Regions from separate parts of the Homo sapiens genome. Here region 1 is linked to region 2. The links are contacts of gene promoters, found by promoter capture Hi-C in blood cells and fetal thymus (Javierre and others, 2016). All regions are on one chromosome and are shown on one strand. The core of a region is centred on a gene start or on the middle of the fragment in contact, and the rest is flanking DNA. Distances in the headings are between cores, read along the strand shown.

The links. Contacts are between HindIII fragments. The CHiCAGO score rates a contact against its expected background, and 5 or more counts as called.
Region 1: a contact is called between a fragment that was not itself captured here and the fragment with the promoter of WNT5A in region 2, in 1 of 17 cell types (megakaryocytes). The highest score is 7.9, in megakaryocytes.

The regions. Positions count from the first base shown.
Region 1 is chr3:54,833,362-54,836,128 of GRCh38, forward strand. All of the region lies in intron 14 of CACNA2D3 (calcium voltage-gated channel auxiliary subunit alpha2delta 3), which reads left to right. Among named protein-coding and RNA genes, the nearest start is that of CACNA2D3-AS1, 67 kb to the right of the region's middle. The HindIII fragment of the contact is 6,803 bases long and covers 1-2,767 here.
Region 2 is chr3:55,485,732-55,488,603 of GRCh38, forward strand. It overlaps WNT5A (Wnt family member 5A), which reads right to left and starts at 1,575. Exons shown (of 5, transcript NM_003392.7): 1 at 1,249-1,575. The coding sequence starts at 1,254. It overlaps WNT5A-AS1 (WNT5A antisense RNA 1), which reads left to right and starts at 1,887. Exons shown (of 2, transcript NR_046656.1): 1 at 1,887-2,148; 2 at 2,259-2,577. The HindIII fragment of the contact is 5,010 bases long and covers 253-2,872 here.

The DNA.
Region 1 (2,767 bases), core at 194-2,693, 650 kb before region 2:
GACCATGGTGACCCCCACCTCCTGCTCCTACCCCTTGGAAAATGAATGTTGACTCTACGTCTGCATTTTTCTTGGAAGCCACATGTATGAATCATAAGCAGCACCCTTGCCTCAGTAGCAGCTACAGGTTGGGGGGCCACAGAAAAGCAGGGACCCCCCTAGCAACGTGTTGGGGGACAGAGGGTTTCTGGCCATAGTTGGCTGCATAACTTCTGCTTGGTGGTCTGGGAAAAAAAAAACAAAACTTGCCATTGACTGCTATTTCCTATGGCAAGAGTATAGAATGCCTTTCAATCATAAAGTGCTTACAGTGCAAATGAACTTGCAAATTGATGTGTTTCTCCATGAAACGTTTAAGATTCACAGAGTCCAGACCTGTGGGGACTGGGAATGATGGAGCTGGTGGGTGCAGAAGAGAGTCTTAATTTTCTGCAAATGGTATTTCTGTGTTCCTGCCAGTCTTTGTTGCCATAATGATGAACTGGTATACATAGGAAAGCCTACGGGTTAGGGTTCTGGCCAAGCCAGTTCAAATTGGGGCCAGAACTGCCCCTAGGAGAGGTCCATGAGATCATTGGCCCACATGTGAACTGTTGCCAGACTGAACTGAATGCATTTCCTTTGTTTACCTGGGGCTGGTTACAAATGAATGGTTTCAGTACAAATGCAATATTATGGGTTTCTTTTTTAAAGTAATGATGCAGTAATTACATTTGGAATTAGCTCCTGAGTGAAGTTGATACTATATTCTGGCTTAATATTTTGAAGTTAGTTTCTCATAATCTTGTCTTTGTGCCAGGACAATTACTAGTAATTTATAACTGATTTTTACTGGTTGCAGGAAAAAGGCTTCATTTCTCATTATTGTCAATGGTATGTTTTTATTTCATCCATGTTACATGTTGGCACTGCTTGAAATTTGATTTGAGTTGCAAAGTGGAAGTTGTGCGGAGTTATGGATCAGCTCAAATCAGTTTTCTTTATAGCATTAACGATTAATCAAGGAGTCAGAATATGGGAAGACTTCTAATTCTAAGAGAACTATTTACCATGGGCTGGTTCTGCCTTTGAAAATGGCCTTGCAGGTTTCCAGTGGTGGCCACAGTATGCTTTGAGTATTTTAAGCAAGATGTTAGAACCATGTTTCCAAAAACTATTACAGACTGTATATACTGGTTGACTTGGTTCATGGCAACACTAACTGTCAGCATCATCTCATAGTTAATATTTTTTGTTTATTATATTGATGAATTAAAGTTGTTTACATATTCTTTCACCCAAATTAGGGTGCCCAAAATAATCACTTATATGATTACCATGTATATTATTAGTCATGGTTCTCTAGAGATAGCCTATAGAGCTAGAGATAGGCTATACAGATAGGGTGGGGAGGAATTTAGTTTAAGGAATTGGGTTACACAATTGTGGGGCTGGCAAGTCTGAAATCTGCAAGGCAGGCAGTCTGACATGCTGGAAATTGCAGCAAGAGTTGATGTTGCAGTCTTGAGTTTGAAGACAGTCTACAGGCAGAATTCCTTCTTTTGAGGGGGGCCTTGTCTTTTCTCTTAAGGCCTTCAATGGATTGGATGAGACCCACCCACATTATGGAGAATAATCTGCTTTACTACTGATTAAAATGTTAGTCACATCTAAAAAACACCTTCCCAGCAACATCTAGACTGGCAGTTGCTCAAACAACTGAGCATGATGGCCTAGCCAAGTTGACACATAAAATTAACCATGTCACCATGAGTTCCCAGTCCTAGACAGACCAGGAGATTCTTGCTTCATTTTACTTGTCACGGAGGGATATAGGACTATCTTGATATCCATGTAAAACTTATAAAAGCATGGCCCCCTCCACCCCTGTTGGGAGTTTTTTTCCAACACCTGCCAGCTTCTCTTTAGCTGTCATGATTATTGGTGGAAATGAAATGGAAAGGATTGCCCTATACGAATGCTTCTTGCATTTTAATATACATACGAATCATTAAAATAATTATTCACATTCAGAGTGTTTGGAATGGGGCCTGAGACTAACAAGCACTTAGGTGCTACAGGTGCTGCTGTTCTGGGTACTACATTGTAAGTAGTGACACCCCACAGCTCTAATAATCTATTAGAAGAACAAGGCAAAAGAAAGACTAAGTTTAATGACCTTTACTCAAGAGACCAGCCAGTCAATGGGGGCTTCAAACGCTTAGATTTTAGGATCTTCTCTTTATAATGCCTCTTTCCAAGTAGATTGAGGGAGCAATGCCTGATTATTCTGTGGAACTAAAGCTATGGAAGAGAAGTGTCCAAATATCAGAAAACACGCTAGGTTGAAGATAGTGGATTCTAGTTCACGGATTGCTTCACTTGGGGCTTGAACAGGCTACGAAGCCAGAAGGACTTGCCTGGTCAATTTTGGTGCCTGTCAGCAGTGCCTCCAGCCTTAATCTCATTTTGGACTCTGCTACTTACTAGCTGTGTGACCTCGAAGGCAGAGAAAAGAAGCTGGCATCCTTTGAGCACTTCCATATGCCAGGTACCATGCTGGGCAGTTTTCTGTTTTGTCTTCATGGCAACAGTGCTGGGGAATAGTGGGCATTATTTCATATGAGCATGTGGAGACTTCACTAGTGCAGTTAGGAAAGATTCAGAGCTGAGATTTAGAACCAGATTTGTCTTGGGCCAAAGCCTACCATGTTCCAAGACTCTGTTTCCCTATTTGTTTGGGACAGAGTAGGGGTTCCTGCCTGTCTCCCAACACTGTGTAAAAAGC
Region 2 (2,872 bases), core at 325-2,824:
ATTACCCATTTAAAGAGAGAAGAGAGAAAAGAGAGGCGAGAGAGGAGAAGGGGCCTCGATACCAGACAGGGATTAGAAAGTCAAACAGGGCCGTGGGGTCTCCAGACTTGAAGTTTTTTGTTGTTGTTTTTTTTAACTTTTTGGGGGGAAGAGGGGTTATTTGCTTCCAGGAAACATCTTAATTTCAATTCTAACCTTATTTTCTAAGAAACTTAAAATGGGAAAGACCAGAAAAATGGAAATAGGAATCGAAGCTTGGAGGACAGATAAGAAAAATTGTTTAGAAAATAAAAACTTATGTTGCAGGAAGAAACGTTAACTTTTCGTAAAAGTGAACTCTCAGTGACCCTCGGAGTGTGTGATTCGGCTTTAACATACAACTGACAATTAAAACAAACAAGAGTTCGCAAACTGGCCCCCGCCTGCTCTCCCAAAGCGGAGGCCCAAGTGTTTTCTAAAGGACAAGGCGGACTCCGCTCAGGGGGCCGGGGAGCGCTGTCCCGGAGTACGGGATTACAGCCACTACCACCACAACTCCCCGCCCCCACCACTGCTGCAAAGTGCCTGAGCTCACCCAGTGGCGGCTAATAATGCTAATAACGCGACCCCGCTCCCCGCGCCGGGGTGCGCGCTGGCCCCCCGCCAGGCACTCTTAAAGGCAAAGGGGCCTGAAGCGCTCGAGTTACTCGGCCAAGGCAAGCCTACAATCTGGCCTCCGTCGGTGCGGGGGGGTGTCGGGGAAGGTGTACGCCGCTCTGGAGTAGTTGGCCCCTAGTTCCTCTGCGGGTTCTCTCAACCAAGGAGTCCCTTTCCCCATCCCGAGCCCCGGCCACACACCGTCCCGGTGCCCGCGCAGTGGGCGCTTGGTAAATATTTGTTGAATTGAATCATTATCCTGTTACTGAAATATACATAGTAAATTACACTCGATGTTCTCAGAGCAAAAGGAAAGTCGTCAGTGAACCGCACTCAGTTTGTCTACTATCGCTCTTCCCCACTTTTTCTCAAAAATCAAAATTGTTTGCAGAACGGGTGGTGCGACCAGAAGTGATCTCCTGGGACACTGAGGCAGTGCGCCCGGCGTGGAGGGCGAAGGGGTAGGGGTTCCTGCCAGCGACGCTGGAGTTCCAGCTTCTTCAGGCGGTTGGGGAAATGGAGGGATAGGAAGAGGCGAAGGGAACTCAGTTAACTTCCAACAGGGGGTGGGGGGAAGTAAAGAAAAAAAGTGGCAGCGCACTGAACACCTACCTTCATGGCGAGGGGGAGGGGGCGCGGGGAGGAAGTCGCCACCCGAGCGAGCGCAGCCGAGGAATCCGAGCGGAGCGACCGGGTTAAGCCTGGGGGGACGGTCAGGAGCAGGGCTGCGGAGTCCTCCGGCGCGCGTCCGGCGGGCGCAGTGAACCGGAGCTGAAGCGGGCACTGGCGCCCGGGCCTGGACTCCCGAGTTGGGGCAGAGCTGGGATGCGCCCAGGAATGGAGGGGGCGCGGACGCGCGCGAGCCGGCAGCAAGGGCAGGGCCTGGTCGGGGCGCAACTAGGGAGCCGCCGGTCCGGCGAGGGCGCGCAGGCAACTGTTCCACGGAGAGGCGCTCCGTTTCCAACGTCCATCAGCGACGGCGGTAATTAGGGCTTTCCAACCCCAAATGTGGGCGTGATTGTGCAAAAGACCTTACGACAAATAATAATAAAAAGAAATTCTTCACAAGAGGGTGAAAAAAATGTACCACTACTCAACTGTGGCCCGGGGCGGGGGAAGGGGGGCGATCTGTGCGCCCAGGTGCCCCCAGTTCATTCACACCACAGATTCTGCAAACTCTTGGCGGCTCACGCCTCCTGATCTCCAGCTCCTCCTCTCTGGGTCTGTAGCCGAAACGTCTGCTTCCAGACGCTGATCCTGCAGCCGCGAGTTAGTGTGGACGTCTCTGTACACACACAGACACACACCCCAACACACACACCCCCGCTGCAGCTTTGGGGCCACAGAACAATCAGGCGCGCATGGCTTTTTCTCCGGGAGATGCCGCTGAAAACGCACAAGTCGCCATCTGAGCTGCAAGAGTCAGCCCCAAATTGTGTCCTTTCATTTTAGGGTTCGGCAAAAACGGGGAGCAAAATAGGTGAAAGTCGCCCCGGAACTTATTGCTGTGCGGTGAGCTGGAGGGGTGCGACTAACCCAGGGGAGACGCGGGCTCCCCCCCCCCACCACGTATCCCGTTCTTTCTCTCTTCGGGTTGATCTCTCTTTTCCCCGTTTTTCCAGGGCGAAGGGCGAAGAGCAGCGAGTGCACCGCGGGCGCGAGGCTGGGGAAGGGCGAGAGCTCGGAGCTCCGCGGCGGCGACTCAGCTCCGGCGGTCCATGGCCGGCGAAGCTGCCCACCTCCTCGTTTGGCGCCCGGGTCCGAGGGGCGGGAGAGCGGGCCGGCGGGAGGCGGGCGGTCCCGGGCACAACGGCGGCGGCGGAAGGGCTCGCTGGGCAGCTGCCGCACGGACCCCGGCTCTGGGCGGCGGAGGCGGCTCCGTGGAGCTCGCAGCAGATTTCCACGCGATCCTGTGCCCCGCAAACAGACTGACCGACCGCGGGGACGCGTCCCCCCCTCCCACCCCCCAGCCCTTCTGGCCAACTGCCTTACTCTCTCCCTCCCTCTCTCCAGACTCCTCTTTCCCCTGGTGTTCTCAGAAGGAAGAAAAAAAAAAAAAGAAAGAAAGAAAGAAAGAAAAAAGTTCTTTAAAGTTTCAGAACTAGGGGCGGCTGGAAAGAGAGAGGGAAGGGGGGGGAAGAAAGAAAAAACTCAACTTTGCTATGCGCATGCGTGGTGAGGCCGGCCTATGACAAACTCTGCAGGATTTTAAAGCCGTACTACGGGCTGGGGTGCC